Linked DNA regions of Homo sapiens: region 1 is linked to region 2. Evidence: promoter capture Hi-C in 16 types of primary human blood cells and fetal thymus (Javierre and others, 2016). All regions are on one chromosome and are shown on one strand. The core of a region is centred on a gene start or on the middle of the fragment in contact, and the rest is flanking DNA. Distances in the headings are between cores, read along the strand shown. Region 1 overlaps PDE1A (phosphodiesterase 1A). Region 2 holds the start of DUSP19 (dual specificity phosphatase 19).

What was found. The method cuts DNA at HindIII sites, captures the fragments that hold promoters and counts their contacts. A CHiCAGO score of 5 or more calls a contact.
Region 1: a fragment that was not itself captured here is called in contact with the fragment with the promoter of DUSP19 in region 2 in 2 of 17 cell types (total B cells and total CD8 T cells); the score reaches 6.7 in total B cells.

Annotation. Positions count from the first base shown.
Region 1 is chr2:182,184,120-182,187,456 of GRCh38, reverse strand. It overlaps PDE1A (phosphodiesterase 1A), which reads left to right. Exons shown (of 15, transcript NM_001363871.4): 12 at 869-989; 13 at 1,378-1,565. Among named protein-coding and RNA genes, the nearest start is that of PPP1R1C, 200 kb to the right of the region's middle. The HindIII fragment of the contact is 2,626 bases long and covers 641-3,266 here.
Region 2 is chr2:183,077,053-183,080,493 of GRCh38, reverse strand. DUSP19 (dual specificity phosphatase 19) reads right to left here and starts at 1,747. Exons shown (of 4, transcript NM_080876.4): 1 at 1,335-1,747. The coding sequence starts at 1,560. The HindIII fragment of the contact is 1,671 bases long and covers 1,093-2,763 here.

The DNA.
Region 1 (3,337 bases), core at 704-3,203, 890 kb after region 2:
TTTCCAACAACAATTCTTGACTTGAGGCACCCACAGCAGTCCTGGGATCTGGGATATTGCCATGTACACAGACCTTAGAATAGGTTGTTGTCTCCTCCTCTGCCTAAACATGGGATGGAAAATGCTCCCAGAGGACAATGCCCTTTTCTCTGTGTGTCATTTTCTATCTTGATGAGTACTTTAAATGTAAAAGTCTTCATTCAGTACTGACATCTCAAAGTGGTGGGATTAATGCTGTCTCCCAGAGATGTTACTTTTCTCTTCACTGATTTGACAGAACACACACACATGCTGTGAACTAACACTTTACATCCAGAGAATAATAAACAACAATTTGAAATATTAACACACTGGCAGAAAGCTCTGACTGATATAGTAAGAAACAAAAAGTAATTGTCTTCCTGTTACCTGAGAAAAACCTTCAATTATTTAATTTCTTTGGAGCTTAGATATGATTTCTTGTTAGTAAAGAATAAAATCCAAAATGCACATGATGTGCTTTCAAAAAAGATAATGATCCCTGGTGTTGAGAGAGGAAACTATAGTCACTCTCATTGGATCTAAATGTATTGTTAGCAATCGTATATTATATAAGGCTGAATAGTAAATAGAAAAGCCAATATACTTGAGTTAGCAAGCTTAAATTGTGTCACTTCCATGGCTTCAAGTATTATTTTATAGAGCAGTTAAACCATCTCTAAAGACTGTTATTAGATTAAAACAATACAAAGGGTAAGCAGAACCAATATTTTAGTTGATTCTTGCTATCCCAGGATTGTCAGAAGCTCTTCATTATTTCTGATTTCAGAATTCAGGAAATTGTAACACTTGAATTTATCTCTCTCTCTTCTCATTTTGGCTTTTGTAGGTTTCATCGATTTCATAGTAGAGCCAACATTTTCTCTTCTGACAGACTCAACAGAGAAAATTGTTATTCCTCTTATAGAGGAAGCCTCAAAAGCCGAAACTTCTTCCTATGTGGCAAGCAGGTATGATATTTTCTTTTTTGCATTATTTTTCATCTTTGTGGTGTTTAGTAACACTTTCCTTAATGATTATATTTCTCACATCTAGGCAGAGAATTCTCACAAGAATTATTAGGGAGTATTGCCACCTAGTGGCTTTATATTATATTGCATCTGCCTTTGACAACTGAAGTTTAATACACAAAATATGAAATACTAAGTAAGGTGTGTACTAAGGAGAATCCAGTGTGGGGAGGGAGAGAAAGGAGATGAGCAGCTGCCACGTGCTCAGAACTGGGACTGAGCATCTACTATCCTGCTTTTCTAGTCGGTTTTGTAAAGTTTTTCAGGTTTTCCTTGTTCACCCCATATCCTGATGGTGTTTTTTGGTTTCTTTGGTTGTTACTGTTAGCTCAACCACCATTGTGGGGTTACACATTGCTGATGCACTAAGACGATCAAATACAAAAGGCTCCATGAGTGATGGGTCCTATTCCCCAGACTACTCCCTTGCAGCAGTGGACCTGAAGAGTTTCAAGAACAACCTGGTGGACATCATTCAGCAGAACAAAGAGAGGTGGAAAGAGTTAGCTGCACAAGGTAGTGTTGTTTATGAGGCCTTACTGCCATCTCTCTCTGTCTTCACTTCTCCTCTAAGAGTTTGGATTACTTCTTCTAGATTTCTTCTTCTATAGAATATGTAAGCCCTTGATGGTATTGGGAATTTGGCTACTCTTTGATCATTCATGAGAAAGTTGGCTCATTTATTAGATAAAAAGAGGTTCTGGTTTGTTTGTGCCACATGGGCTGCAGATCTGTGTGTCAGTGGGTGCTGGCAAACTGGATACTGAAAGATGAGATAATGAAATGGTGACAAAACTTTGTGGTACCATATAAACTCCTGTGCTTTCGTAGAGGTGCTTTCCAGCCTGGATTTTACTTGGTAAGTGGCTTTTGTGTTGCATTAAGTGTGTTATCACTTCATGTCAGAGACTTGGGTGTGTTTTTTTTCTGTTTCACTAAGTTGCTTTTTTGACTCAGAATTTAGACAGGAATTGGGGAAATCATTAGTAATCAACCACCACAGCAATCGCATGGGAAGGTAGCTACAGTTATTTCTGACATATTAGCTGCTTCAAATTAATTAGTCCATTTAGTAGGTTTGTGAGTTAGTATTCAAACAGTTATTATCTTTCGTGCAGGAATTAGCTTTCATATCCAGATCTGGCCCCTGCCTCTTCTCACACTCATTCCCACAGCTCTGTCTCCCTTATACACTACACTCCCTGCACAATGGCCTCTTGGAAGTTTCTTAAAATACTCCAGGGTCTTTGTAGTTATTTTTTCAGCCAGAAATTTTTTCCTTGTGTTTTTTGCAGCTTTAATATACTCAGGAATAAACTTACTTTTCTTAAAATGGATAATATAAGATCAAAATAGAGTGTTAAATCATATTTATAGTCAGAAAGACACAATATTGAAACGTTTTCAATTATCCCAAATGTCAACCATAAATATAACATGTTTCCAGTGAAAATTCCAATACATTTTTCATGGAATTTAAGAAATTGATCCTAAAATCTATATGGTATTGCAAATACCTAAGAATACTCAAGACACTCCTGAAGGATAATAAAGTGGGAGCACTTGCCATATATCAAAATTTACTCTTATACTGAAGTAATAAATTTAGTGTGGCTGTGATATAGAGATAATAAGATGGGCCTTGGGAATAGACCAGAGAGCCAAAAATAGCACATTAATTCCTGCAGAACTTGACAGATGGCAGACACACACATTCGTATATGCAATCTTTTGTATGTTCTCACATATTTACCCTTATGATATTCTTCATTTCTTCTTGTGTGTCAGAGCTACTATTTGGTATCATTTCTCTTCACACTGGAGTACTTTCTCAAGTATTTTCTTATAACACAGTTATACTGACAAACAATTAGATTTTCTTTATCTGGGAATGTCTGTATCTTACTTTTATTTATGAATAATTTTACTTGATTTAGAATTGTTGAATGATTTTTTTTTATTTTAGCACTTTTAATGTGTAATTCTATTGCCTCTGGCTTCCATAGTTTCTGATAGTGTTGGCCAAAAATAAATTGTATTGTTGCTTCCTTGTATGTACTGAGTATTATCTTTTTCTTTCTGTTTTCTAGACTTTATTTTGACTTTCAGCAATTTGATGATGATATATCTAGGTCTTTTTTTTTTTCAGTATTCTACTTAGTGTTCACTAGCTTCTTAAATCCACAAATTAATAATTTGCTTCAAATTTAGAAAGCTTTCTGTCATTTTGTTCAATATTTTTCTTCTGCCTCTTTCTCTCTGTTCTCTCCTTCTGAGGATTGTGTTAT
Region 2 (3,441 bases), core at 498-2,997:
GATTACCTAAATAACTCACTTTTTCACTGTAAATGTGACAAGAATATGGTACAGTTTTTCACGGGACTGTAGAAACTAGTTAGAGACATTTATTTGGTGAATTTAAAGACAGCCTATGTAACAATTCATATAATATTTAATAACTTATATGTACACTGCAATTGATTTGCATCAAAAACCTTTTACAACAACCTCAGGAGGATCCTATGACATAAGCAGATACTGTTACTTCATCTTTACAAATGGCTTTTTGGAGGACCAGAAAGGATAAATGGCTTGCACCAGCTAATCTAGTAAATTAGAGGCGGAGCAGGATTGAAAACTTGGTCTATGTGAGGCAGCCTAGTATAACAATGGACAGCAGGAGTCCATCAGACTTGGGCTTGATGCATACGTCTGTTATTTACCAGGTGTGTTACCTTGTGTAAATTACTTCACCAATTTTAAATCCTGGTTTCTATTTGTAAAACAAAGCTGATAATCCCTACTTCACAGGATTCCTCAAAGGAGTAAGACACTAGGTGAACAGCACCTGGGCTATTTCTCAGTCTTCTCTCTATTCAAGAATGCCTTAGCTGCATAGTGATAAGTCATTTAGTCTTTCCAAGTCTTAATTTCTCTATTCATAAATAGAAATAATTCAGACGTACTTGAAAACATTCTTGACTATTTTTTTAAGAACACCATACCATATTCTTGCCAAATTAACAAGTTTGCACTTTTATAACCTTGCTTCATTTGCTATTTGTGAACTATGCTTGTATAGGGGCTCAGTATTTCCATAATACGAAATAAATCATAAGATCTTAAGATCTCCTTCTCTTAAACACTCCAAAAACAGACACCATGAACAGACGTGGCCACAGGAGGCATGTATTCCGCACGGTCTGTAAGAGCTGCGCAGGCCAGCAAGCACAGGACTATTTCGAGTATTAACTTTTCTATAACTTTAACCATTGTCACTTGTAGTTCTGCCTGATACAAACATTCTTTTTTCATTCCTTTTTTTTCAAGCTGTATTTTTTATAAGCCAAGAAAACACAACATCAATGTGTTATTCTCCAGAGAAGTTAGAGAAACGGGAAGAAAGCTTTTCTAAAATTCAAATATGCAGTGCCAAGTGCTACGAGAATAGCATCTATGCTTCTTATGGGTACACTGTGAGGCAGAAACGGCTCTAGCTGGCTAATGGAAGTTCCATATCCAAAAAAGGAAACAGTTCAGCTTTTCGGCAGGATAGCTGATAATACAGACTATTACGCATAAAGGGGGAAAATGAGAACGTAATCTGGCTAAAAGGACTCAATGATCTAGTGGCAAGTCGATATACTCACCTAGGAGCAACCATGGCTTAATAACGCCAACTTGCAGGTCCGAGCTAAGGTCCTGCACATAACCACAACCACCCCCACTGCTCGGCTCTACTTCTTCCACAACATGAATTCTGGCATCTTTCCATGTTTCTATAATTTTCTTTCCAGTTAGCGTTGTCACCCTGGTGCATTGCTTCCTGAGATTATTCCGGGAGAATGCTTTAATTTCCTGGTTAAGGGAGTACATTACATGAGCAGTGGCTGGGAACAAATACAAACAAATCCAGCAGGCATAGAAAACGGCTGAACTGCTAGTCCCTTATTGCCCAGGTAACAAAGCCAGCCTCAGAGGTGCTCGCCCATCCAGGTAACCGCAGCAGCCACAGACCAAGAGACTGAGTCGTCCAGCTCCGTTTATCCCAGCGATGCAATGTAAGGCGAAATTTGATTGGTCATTGAGACACAAGTGCCGATTGGATGCTGTTTCTTCTTCCTGTCAGCCAGAAACCTGCATTTTCCCGAAAGGCTCGAGGGATCCACTGGGGAAGATTTCTTATTGTTGCTGTTTAAATTTAGCTTTCTAATACACGCAGAATGGTAAAATATAAGACTTCGTTGGAGAGAGGAATGATATGTCCTGGTTCTTTAAAGGCAGTGATTTTCTGATATATTCTGTTAGTGTCACTTACGGCAGTGACCATGGACGATCCGGGCTGACCTGTGTATCGCTCCCGCTTGAAAGAGACCGGCGGAGTCACCTTGCAAATCACCCTATGTCCCAAAGCCTTTCCTGCCTGTCTGCTTTTAGGCTAGTCCAGGAGGGCTAGAGCAGACGTTAAAAGTTATTTCTCGCTTCCTGTATCCTTCACACCTTCTGCTTTTGCTGTTAATGCAAGAGGAACGTTTACTAGATAAAGTTGTTGTGCGTATTTGTGAGGCAACAATTTAAATAAACTGGGAAAAAAGATATATTTTTTAAAATTTATGCTCATATATGTAGATTGACAAGAGCTTAAAATTTATTTATTTTCTGACTTTCAGCCTACATTTTCATTTCATACAGTAAATATACATCCTAAATAAGAATTGCAGCAAGTCCATCCATACGAAGAATTAAGAAAATCAATTGTGTAAGCATCCAAATTTGTAAAACAGATAAATAAATTATAGAACGATGATTCTGATTACCAAAAAAAAGTTTTGCAAAAGAAATCACAAGATTCCTTTAAAGAGAAATTTTTCAAACCCCTATTAAAGTAAATGTAATTTTAAATGAATTTCAACACAATGTATAAACACATATATAAAATGAAGAAGTTGCACTTATGAAAACTTTTCTTCCAATACCACATATTAAAATTTGTGTTGTTGTTGAAACTTTCTGACATAAAAAAATTCAACTGTTATGGATTGACTATTTCTGTCCCTTCAAAATGCATATGTTAAAGCTTTAAACCTCAAGGTGATGGTATTTAAATGGGACTTTTGGGATGTAATTTAGGATTAGACTAAGACCCTAGGGTAGGGTCCTCATGATGGGTTTAGTGGCTTCAGGAGAACTGAAAGAAATCTGCCTGCTCCCCTATATGGACCAAGGAAAGACAGTATGAGGACATAAGGAGAAGCTGGCTGTCTGCAAGCCAGGAAGAGAGCTTTCAGCAGGAACTGAATAGGCCAGCACCTTGATCTTGGACTTCTCAGCCTCCAGAACTGTAAGAAAATATATTTCGGTTGTTTAAGCAACAAAGTTTATGGCATTTTGTTAGAGCAGCCTGAGCAAACTGAGATATAAACCAAACTTCTCCCTCTTGAAAAAGGAATAGGCCCAGTACAGTGGCGCATGCCTGTAATTCCAGCACTTTGGGAGGCCAAAATGGGTGGATTGCTTGAGCCCAGGAGTTCGAGACCAGCCTGGGCAACATGATGAAACCCCAACTCCACTAAAAAATACAAAAAATTAGCCAGGTTTGGTGGCACGTGCCTGTAGTCTCAGCTACCTGGGAGGCTGAGGTGGGAGGATCACCTGAGCTAAGGAGGTTGAGGCTGCAGTGAGCCATGATCATGCCACTGTACTCCAGCCTGGGCAACAGAGTAAGACCTTGTCTCAAAAAAAAAAAAAAAAAAAAAA